Regions from separate parts of the Homo sapiens genome. Here region 1 is linked to region 2. The links are contacts of gene promoters, found by promoter capture Hi-C in human tissues and cell types (Jung and others, 2019). All regions are on one chromosome and are shown on one strand. The core of a region is centred on a gene start or on the middle of the fragment in contact, and the rest is flanking DNA. Distances in the headings are between cores, read along the strand shown. Region 1 overlaps CEP89 (centrosomal protein 89). Region 2 holds the start of CEP89 (centrosomal protein 89).

Region 1 (4,247 bases), core at 618-3,117, 33 kb after region 2:
TTTTCTGACCAGGTTGGATGATGCATCTAGGGAGGGTAGGCCAATAGGAGTATGCGTTGGCCCATCCAGGGAGTGGTGGGCAAGATGTGTGGAGCGTGATGGGGAGGAGTATTGGAAGGAGAGGAGGAGCCCGGCATGGGAAGATGTGTGGAGCGTGATGGGGAGGAGTGTTGGAAGGAGAGGAGGAGCCCGGCATGGGAAGATGTGTAGAGCGTGATGGGGAGGAGTGTTGGAAGGAGAGGAGGAGCCCGGCATGGGAAGATGTGTGGAGAGTGATGGGGAGGGGTGTTGGAAGGAGAGGAGGAGCCCGGCATGGGAAGATGTATAGAGCGTGATGGGGAGGAGTGTTGGAAGGAGAGGAGGAGCCCGGCATGGGAAGATGTGTGGAGAGTGATGGGGAGGGGTGTTGGAAGGAGAGGAGAAGCCTGGCATGGGAAGGGCTTGGAGACACTGAAGAGTTTGGCTTTGGTTCTGCAGCCACGTGAGCCACGGATGGTGGTCAGGCATGGGTATGGGAGAGAGATGACAATTTAGAGTCAGGCCCCAGCCTGGCTCTGGGACCCACTTGCCCTGTGACCCTGTGAATTTTATCCCTGTTCTGGGCCTTGTCGAGCTCCTCTGTAGAAGGTGAATTTCTATGATTGTACTTTCTGAGTTGTCATATTTCATTATCTACTTTAAAAGTTTATCTCTCTCTCTTTTTCTTCATCAGATGGTAAACACCCTGTTCTGAATTTAAAGGTAAGATCATTTTTTTTAAAAACTGATTTTCTCAATAAATAGAGTTTTTATCATAATTTTTCATAAATTTTCAACAACTTTGGTGTTGAAACTTTGGCGGTGATTTTGGGGCAAAAATAAATCTTCCCTTAAGAGTTCTTTCCTGTTGAATATTTCTTTTAAATGCTTTTTTTTTTTTTTGAGAAGGGGGTCTCACTGTCACCCAGACTGGAGTGCAGTGGCGCAATCTCAGCTCACTGCGGTCTCCGTCTTCCAGGCTCAAGCGATCCTCCCACCTCAGCCTCCCGAGTAGCTGGGATCGCAGATGCATGCCACCACACCCAGCTAATTTGTTGTATTTTTGATAAAGATGGGGTTTCACCATATTACCCAGGCTGGTCTCAAACTCCTGAGCTCAAGTGATCTGCCCATCTCGACCTCCCAAAATGCTGGGATTACAGGCATGAGCCACTGTGCCTGGCCTTAAATACTTTTAAAACATGAGGAAATTGATATTTTCCATAGTTTAATGATGAAAGTAATGTATTAAAGGGTTAGAAACTACTTTATAATTAAAATGAATGTGGAATGAATAGACAATTTTATCTTTTGTTAAAATTATTTTTTGAGACAGGATCTCCCTCTGTGACCCGGGCTGGAGTGCAGTGGTGTGATCATAGCTCACTGTAGCCTCAATCTCCTGGGATCAAGTGATTCTTTTGCCTCAGTCTCCTGAGTAGCTGGGACTACAGGCACATGCCACCACTCCTGGCTAATTAAAAAAAAATTTTTTTTTAGAGATGGGGTCTTGTTATGTTGCCCAGGATGGTCTCAAGCTCCTGGGCTCAAGCGATCCTCCTGCCTTGGCCTCCCAAGGGCATTGGGATTGCAGGCATGATGTGACGTGCCTAGCCTGAGATATTTTTCTGAGATGGAGTCTTGCTCTGTCACCCAGACTGGAGTGCAGTGGCGCAGTCTCGGCTCACTGCAACCTCCGCCTCCTGGATTCAAGTGATTCTCCTGCCTCATCCTCCCGAGTAGCTAGGACCACAGGTGCATGCCACCATGCCCAGCTAATTTTTGTATTTTTAATGGAGATGAGATTTCACCATGTTGGCCAGTCTGGTCTCAGACTCCTGACCTCAGGCGATCCCACCTGCCTCGGGCTCCTAAAGTGCTGGGATTACGGGTGTGAGCCACCACACCTGGCCTGGCCTGAGAATTTTAATAACTAATTTGCAAACATGGAAATAGTTCTAACTTAAGTTTTTCATTGTGCGATGTCATAGGAACTTAAAAATTAAACATTTCTCTGCAGAGTTAATTTATAACCTTGTCTACTTTGTCAGCAGAAATTAGAAACTTAATATCACACCACCATGTAAGGAAAAATTAACAAAAGTTCACAGCCTTCCCTTTCCTCTAGGTTTGGGGTTGAGAAGCAATATCTTACTGTTCCTTTCTCAGCATTTTGCAAATGTGCTTCCCTGCAGTTGATGGGGTCCTTTTTGCCCATCCCAGTGAGAAGAGGCCTGGCTGGAGTTTGCTGAGGGCATCTCTGCTCAGCACTTGCAGCCCTACCTAGCACATGCTTTTCAACGTGAGCCCACAGCCCGCTACTCACGGGATCTACCTGTAAGGACAGTCACTGAACTCAGTGCAGAAAGGCAGGAAGAAAGCTCAGGCAGGACTTCCTTTATAGCCTCAGAGAGCCCACCAGAGGGGAAGACACTTAAGGTCTCAGATTCAGGTATAAGAAACAGTGTAATCCCAGCATGTTGGGAGACCAAGGTAGGAGGATCCCTTGAGCCCAGGAGCTCAAGGCTAGCCTGGACAACAGGAGACCCCATCTCTACAAAAAAAAAAAAAAAAAAATTAGGTGTGATGGCCCATGTGTAATCCCAGCTACTTGGGAGGCTGAGGTAGGAGGATTTCATGAGCCCAGGAGTTGGAGGCTGCAGTGAGCTGCGATCACACCACTGCACCCTAGCCTGGGTGACAGAGTAAGACCCTGTCTTAAAAAAGGAAAAAAAGAAATAGTACATATTAAAGTTTTGAAAGCTAAAACAAACAAAGAACAAGAGTCAAAATGAAGGAAATAAAGCATGCTTATATACCTGCTGTCTAATGACCTAGCTGCGTGTGTCCACTTTATAAAACACTAATGCTCTGCACTTATTCCTCTTATGTTCTTTCTTTCCTAGGATGAAAAACCTCCATTATGTGAGAAACCTCCACCCTCCCCAGGTATTTGCCTTTTGAATTATATTATGATTGAAAAGCTTGTTTTGGAGAATATCCAGATTAATTTTATCTGAAAATAAAGATTACATTTTCTTTTTCTTGTATTAGTTGTTGAACTTTCACCCTTGCCTCAAAAGAGAGGGTCCAAACACTAGGTAGTGGACGTATGTCCATACAGGATGTGCTTGGGTCCTGGGAGGGTGGGGGTTGGACCTGGGGGGACGTGGACCTGTGGGATATGCTGGGATCCTGGGGGAAGGGAGGTGGACCTGTGGGATGTAATGGGATCCTGGGGGTGGAAGGAGGACCTGTGGGATGTGCTGGGATCCCAGTGGGAGGAGTGGACCCATGATGTACTGGGATCCGTACTGGGAAGGCAGGTGCAGTTATGGGCTCTGCTCTGAGGCTGAAGGCAGAGGGAGAGGTCTAGAGATGCTTTATGGGTTATGCCCCCTGAACAGTTTGGGGAGCTTCAGTGGCTTCCAAAATGGAGGTTATAATTTTTGCTGTTAGGTCCCACATTGTTACAAGATCTTTGGGGTGTCGCTTTTCTGGTCGGAAATGTCTGTGGTGCCAGTGTGCCTTTGCCTGAGTTCTTGTCCTGCGTCCAGGAAGAATGAGGTAAGCAGACAAGTGGAGGGTGAGCAAGACGAAGAGGAGCTTTACTGCATGTTAGAACAGTTCAGAGGAGACCCACAGTGGGTAGCTCCTCTCTGTAGGCAGGTCGTCCCGTTAAGTGTTCAGCTCTCAGCAGAGAGGAGGTCCCCTGGAGTCGATGGCTCCTCTCTGAAGGCAGGTCACCCAACTGTCTCTGCAGCTCTCAGCAAAGAGGAAGCCCTGGAGAGGGTTGTTCTTCTCTGCAGCTGGTTATTCTGACCAGCTCCTAGTAGAGAGGAGGCCCTGGAGTGGGTTGCTCCTCTCTGCTGCTGGTCCTCTGACATCTCCAGCTATCAGCAGAGAGGGGAACTCCTCTCTGCAGCTGGTCATCTCATCTGCTCTGCTCCAACTAAGCCCAGGGCTTTTATGGGCCTCAGAAGGGAGGAAGTGCGCACCGATTGGTCCATGGGTGGCCATGGGTGGGCCTGGAAAAGGCACCATAAGTTCCTACTGCAGTCCCACGGGACAGGCAACCCGGTCCCCAGCCTTCAGGCCCTCTCCGACCTGAAGGCGGGGCCTCACCGGGGACCTGCCTGCTTCTGCCCAGGAACCTGTCTCCCTCCTGCTGCCCAGTCCATGGCACCCAGGCTGCTCACACCAAGGGGCAACTGCAGGCCAGTGCAGAG
Region 2 (3,989 bases), core at 1,373-3,872:
ACTGCTGGCCTCAAGTGATCCTCCCGCCTCCGCCTCCCAAAGTGCTGGGATTACAAGCATGAGCCATCACGCCTGGCCTCTAGGTTGACGTTTTCACCAGCGAAAGGGCAGGATAATGACTGATGGAGCCATCACACCCTGAGAATCTAAAATCAGGTCTCCAACTTGTATACTTTGTGATACACTTGCCTGGAGTGTGTGACAAGCTGAGCTGGCTGCAGAGGCAGCTTCCGCATTTAAATTCCTCGAAGAGATTTTATAAACCAAGTCAGAGAATGACATAGATTGGATTGATGGTTGCTTCTGGAGAGCAGCTGAGTGTCCATGAGGACAGGACTACCACGAAGGTGTAGGAATCGGTACTCACCAACTGGATGACGAGGCAGGATGCTTCCATCTGGCTGGCCACTGGAAGCAGCACCATTCCAAGGTCCAGCACAGTAAACTTCTGTAGGGCTGGGAAGTATTGTTCACTCATCCGGGTTTTTTCAACGACTACAATTCCTTTAAGATTATTGGACTTGAAAGGAAAAAAGACAGTAAGTCATTTTGCAACCAAATTGCTTTTCAGGTTAAGAATGCTATCACTTCGTGCCTGACCTGGCCAATGATTTTAAATAAATGATACCAAGGGATGGAGGGAAGGGTGGGGTGAGACAAATCAATGTTCGAGTTTCTTTAATCCAATGCTTACATTTCTTTTTTGTTTTTGTTTTTTGTTTTTTGAGTTGGAATCTCACTCTGTCGCCCAGGCTGGAGTGCAGTGGCGTGATCTCGGCTCACTACAGCCTCTGCCTCCCAGGCTCAAGCAATTCTCCCGTCTCAGCCTCCCTAGTAGCTGGGATTACAGGCGTGCGCCACCATACTCAGCTAATTTTTGTATTTTTAGCAGAGACAGGGTTTCACCATGTTGGCCAGGCTGGTCTCCAACTACTGACCTCAGGTGATCCACCCGCCTTGGCCTCCCAAAGTGCTGGGATTACTGGCGTGAGCCACAGCACCCAGCCTAATACTTACATTTCTAACCCGAACAAGCCTCTTTCTGTAGCCATTTCCTGCCACCAAATCAGCTTCGGTGACATAAAGAATGCAGCATCTGTTCGACAGATAAAAGTCTGGTGTCAAGCCATCCTCGAAAATGAGCTTAATTTTCCCTTAAAATACAGAGAAGAAAATGAGTTCCATAAGCTTTGGATGAAAAGATGGCAATAATAGGCAGATTTTTTTTTTTTAATATGTCAGGGGAGGAAAGGGCTGGCAGAGGGCAGGCCACCGACCTTGCATCTCCTGCGCCAGCTGTGACCCGCGCCATTTCTCATTGGCCACAATATGCCCCAAAGGCACGTGCACGGGGCCCGTATCATCAGGGGGGTTCTTTTCCATGGATGGTCTCCACCTAAGGAGGGAAAAGCCAGGCGGCACTTGAGCAGGCTCTCCTGCACACGGCCCTGCATTCCACTCCAAGCCAGGGCCTCTGGGGCAGGATCCCCTCTGCAAACTGAATTATTTGTCAAAGAACTGTCAAATAAGATTCCCTTTATAATTACTAATAAGAAAACACAGGCTGGGCGCGGTGGCTCACACCTGTAATCCCAGCACTTTGGGAGGCCGAGCGAGGCGGGTGGATCACAAGGTCAGGAGTTCAAGACCAGCCTGGCCAAGATAGTGAAACCGCGTCTCTACTAAAAATACAAAAAAATTAGCCGGGCTTGGTGGTGGGCACCTGTAATCCCAGCCACTTGGGAGGCTGAGGCAGAGAATTGCTTGAATCCGGAAGGCGGAGGTTGCAGTGAGCCGAGATCGCGCCACTGCACTCCAGCCTGGGCGACAGAGCAAGACTCGTCTCAAAAAAAAAAAAAAAAAAGAAAAGAAAAAGAAAACACAAAGGCCTGAATGAAGGCCAGGGTGGCTGGAGACGGGATGTGTGGTGGTGGAGGTGGTAATGGCATTGGATTCCAATAAGGCCAGAGGCACGATCAGATTTAAGTTTTAAAAGAATCCTGGGCTGGGCATGGTAGCTCACGTCTGTAATCCCAACATTGGGCAAGGCTGAGGCGTGAGGATCGCTTGTGCCCAGGAGTTCGAGACCAGCCTGAGCAATACAGCGAGATCCCGTTTGCCAATTATTTGTGGCGAAATAAATTCTCTAAGAACCAGGAGATTCCTGTCCTGGTGTCCGCGTCCTTCATTTTCATCACGTGCCTAGCCCCTGATACCCCAGCTGGATCCGCACCGTAGCTTCTCAGTCCAGTCCAAGGCCCGAATACAGCCGGCAGGAACCCCACCGTCCCAGTCTAGAGATCATGTTACTGGTGGCCGCGCCACCTTCCGGGTTCACGCCCTCGGTGCTCGCCCAGTCCTTCATCCAGCCCGCCCTCCGCCTCCCGCAGCGCCGGATAGGCTGTGGCGTCAGAAATGGACGTCTAACCTGACCAATAAGAGAACGGATAAGGGCGGACGTTTCCGCCCTGGCGGGGATTTGAACGGTACCCACTGGTTGCCAAGAACGACCGGTGTGGAAGTAACCTTAGCTCTGATTGGTCGAGGGCCGAGCTGAGCCAATGGCCGACGTGGTTGCTGCAAAGTCCATTGCGAAGAGAAAGCGTGAGGGCTGGGCCTGCGGCGGGCTTTAGGGAGTGGTCCCTGGCTGTGGATAGATCTGCTGATGAGTCCAGGCCCCGGTCCATTCTCCTCGCGCTGCAAGGATGCTCCTGGGATTTCGGAGAGGCCGCAGGAGTCATTTCGTAAGTAGATGCTCGCCCGCCGCGCGTGGGGCTCTGTGGGGCCGGGAATTAGGGGTAAAGTGTTGGGGCGGGTTGGGGTTTGGCCTGAGATCCAGTCAAGGGGGCGGCACAAGAGAAAGTGGTTTTCAGTTGAGGAAGCCTTGATTTTTCGTGTTCTAAACTTTTTTTTTTTTTTTTAAGAAACAGGGTCTCGCTCTGTCGCCCAGGCTAGAGTGCAGTGGTGCGATCATAGCTCACTGCATCCTCGAACTCCTGGGCTCAAGCGATCTTCCCACCCCAGCCTCCCGAGGAGCTGAGACTACAGGCGCGCGCCACTACTCCCGGCTAATTGTTCAATATTTTTGTGGAAACAGGGATCTTGCTATGTTCCTATGGTGGTCTTGAGCTCCTTAGCCTCCTAAAGTGTTGGTATCACAGGCGTGAGCCACTGTGCCCGGCGTTAACAATCTTCTGCCCCAGGGTCGGCCACAGTTGGACAGGAGCACCCTGCCTCCCCTGTAGCATTCGTCCCCGTGCCCGGAGTTAACTCCTGGACGACGTACACCTGCTGCACTGCTGGATATAGCCATTCTTCATTTTTCCCTCCTCCACCCACCATGTACACCCCATCAGCAAGTCCCATCCGATATACCCACTACATACATCTGCCAGCTGTTCCCATCTCCACCCACACCCCGGCCTCCAGCATCTGTCTGGACTGCTGCGGCAGATCCTCACTGGTTTCTCTGCTTCCACTCTCGCCCTTCCCCTAGGTCCATTCTCCACGTAGCAGCCAAGGGGATTCTTATATTTATTTATTATTTAATTTAGTTTTAGAGACAGGGTCTTGTCCTGATGCCCAGGCTGGAGTACAGTGGCATGATCATAGCTCACTGTGGCTTCAACCTCTTGGGTTCAAGTGATCCTCCTGCCTCAGGCTCCTGAGTAGCTGGGACTACAGGTGTGCACCACCACACCTAGGTATTTTTTATTTATTTTATTTTTTGCCTCACACTCTGCCAAGTCTCAATGCCTGGCTAATTTTAAAAATTATTTTGTAGAGGCCACGTGAGGTGGCTCTCACCTGTAATCCAGCACTTTGGGAGGCTGAGGCAGGCGGATCATTTGAGGTCAGGAGTTCAAGATTAGCCTGGCCAACATGGTGAAAACCCATCTCTACTAAAAATACAAAAATTAGCGGGCGTGGTGGTGGGCACCTGTAATCCCAGCTACACGGGAGGTTGAGGTGGGATAATCGCTTAAACC

The links. Contacts are between HindIII fragments. The study calls those that stand out against the background at their distance.
Region 1: a fragment that was not itself captured here is called in contact with the fragment with the promoter of CEP89 in region 2 in 1 of the 25 tissues and cell types used here (thymus).

The regions. Positions count from the first base shown.
Region 1 is chr19:32,936,351-32,940,597 of GRCh38, reverse strand. CEP89 (centrosomal protein 89) reads left to right here. Exons shown (of 19, transcript NM_032816.5): 6 at 713-741; 7 at 2,925-2,967. Among named protein-coding and RNA genes, the nearest start is that of CEP89, 33 kb to the left of the region's middle. RefSeq lists an enhancer at 3,978-4,247. The HindIII fragment of the contact is 4,977 bases long and covers 1-4,247 here.
Region 2 is chr19:32,970,591-32,974,579 of GRCh38, reverse strand. CEP89 (centrosomal protein 89) reads left to right here and starts at 2,622. Exons shown (of 19, transcript NM_032816.5): 1 at 2,622-2,744. The coding sequence starts at 2,706. It overlaps FAAP24 (FA core complex associated protein 24), which reads right to left and starts at 2,338. Exons shown (of 5, transcript NM_152266.5): 1 at 2,234-2,338; 2 at 1,278-1,396; 3 at 1,018-1,154; 4 at 368-520. The coding sequence starts at 1,383. RefSeq lists enhancers at 2,165-2,214, 2,595-2,814 and a silencer at 2,355-2,484. The HindIII fragment of the contact is 5,065 bases long and covers 1-3,989 here.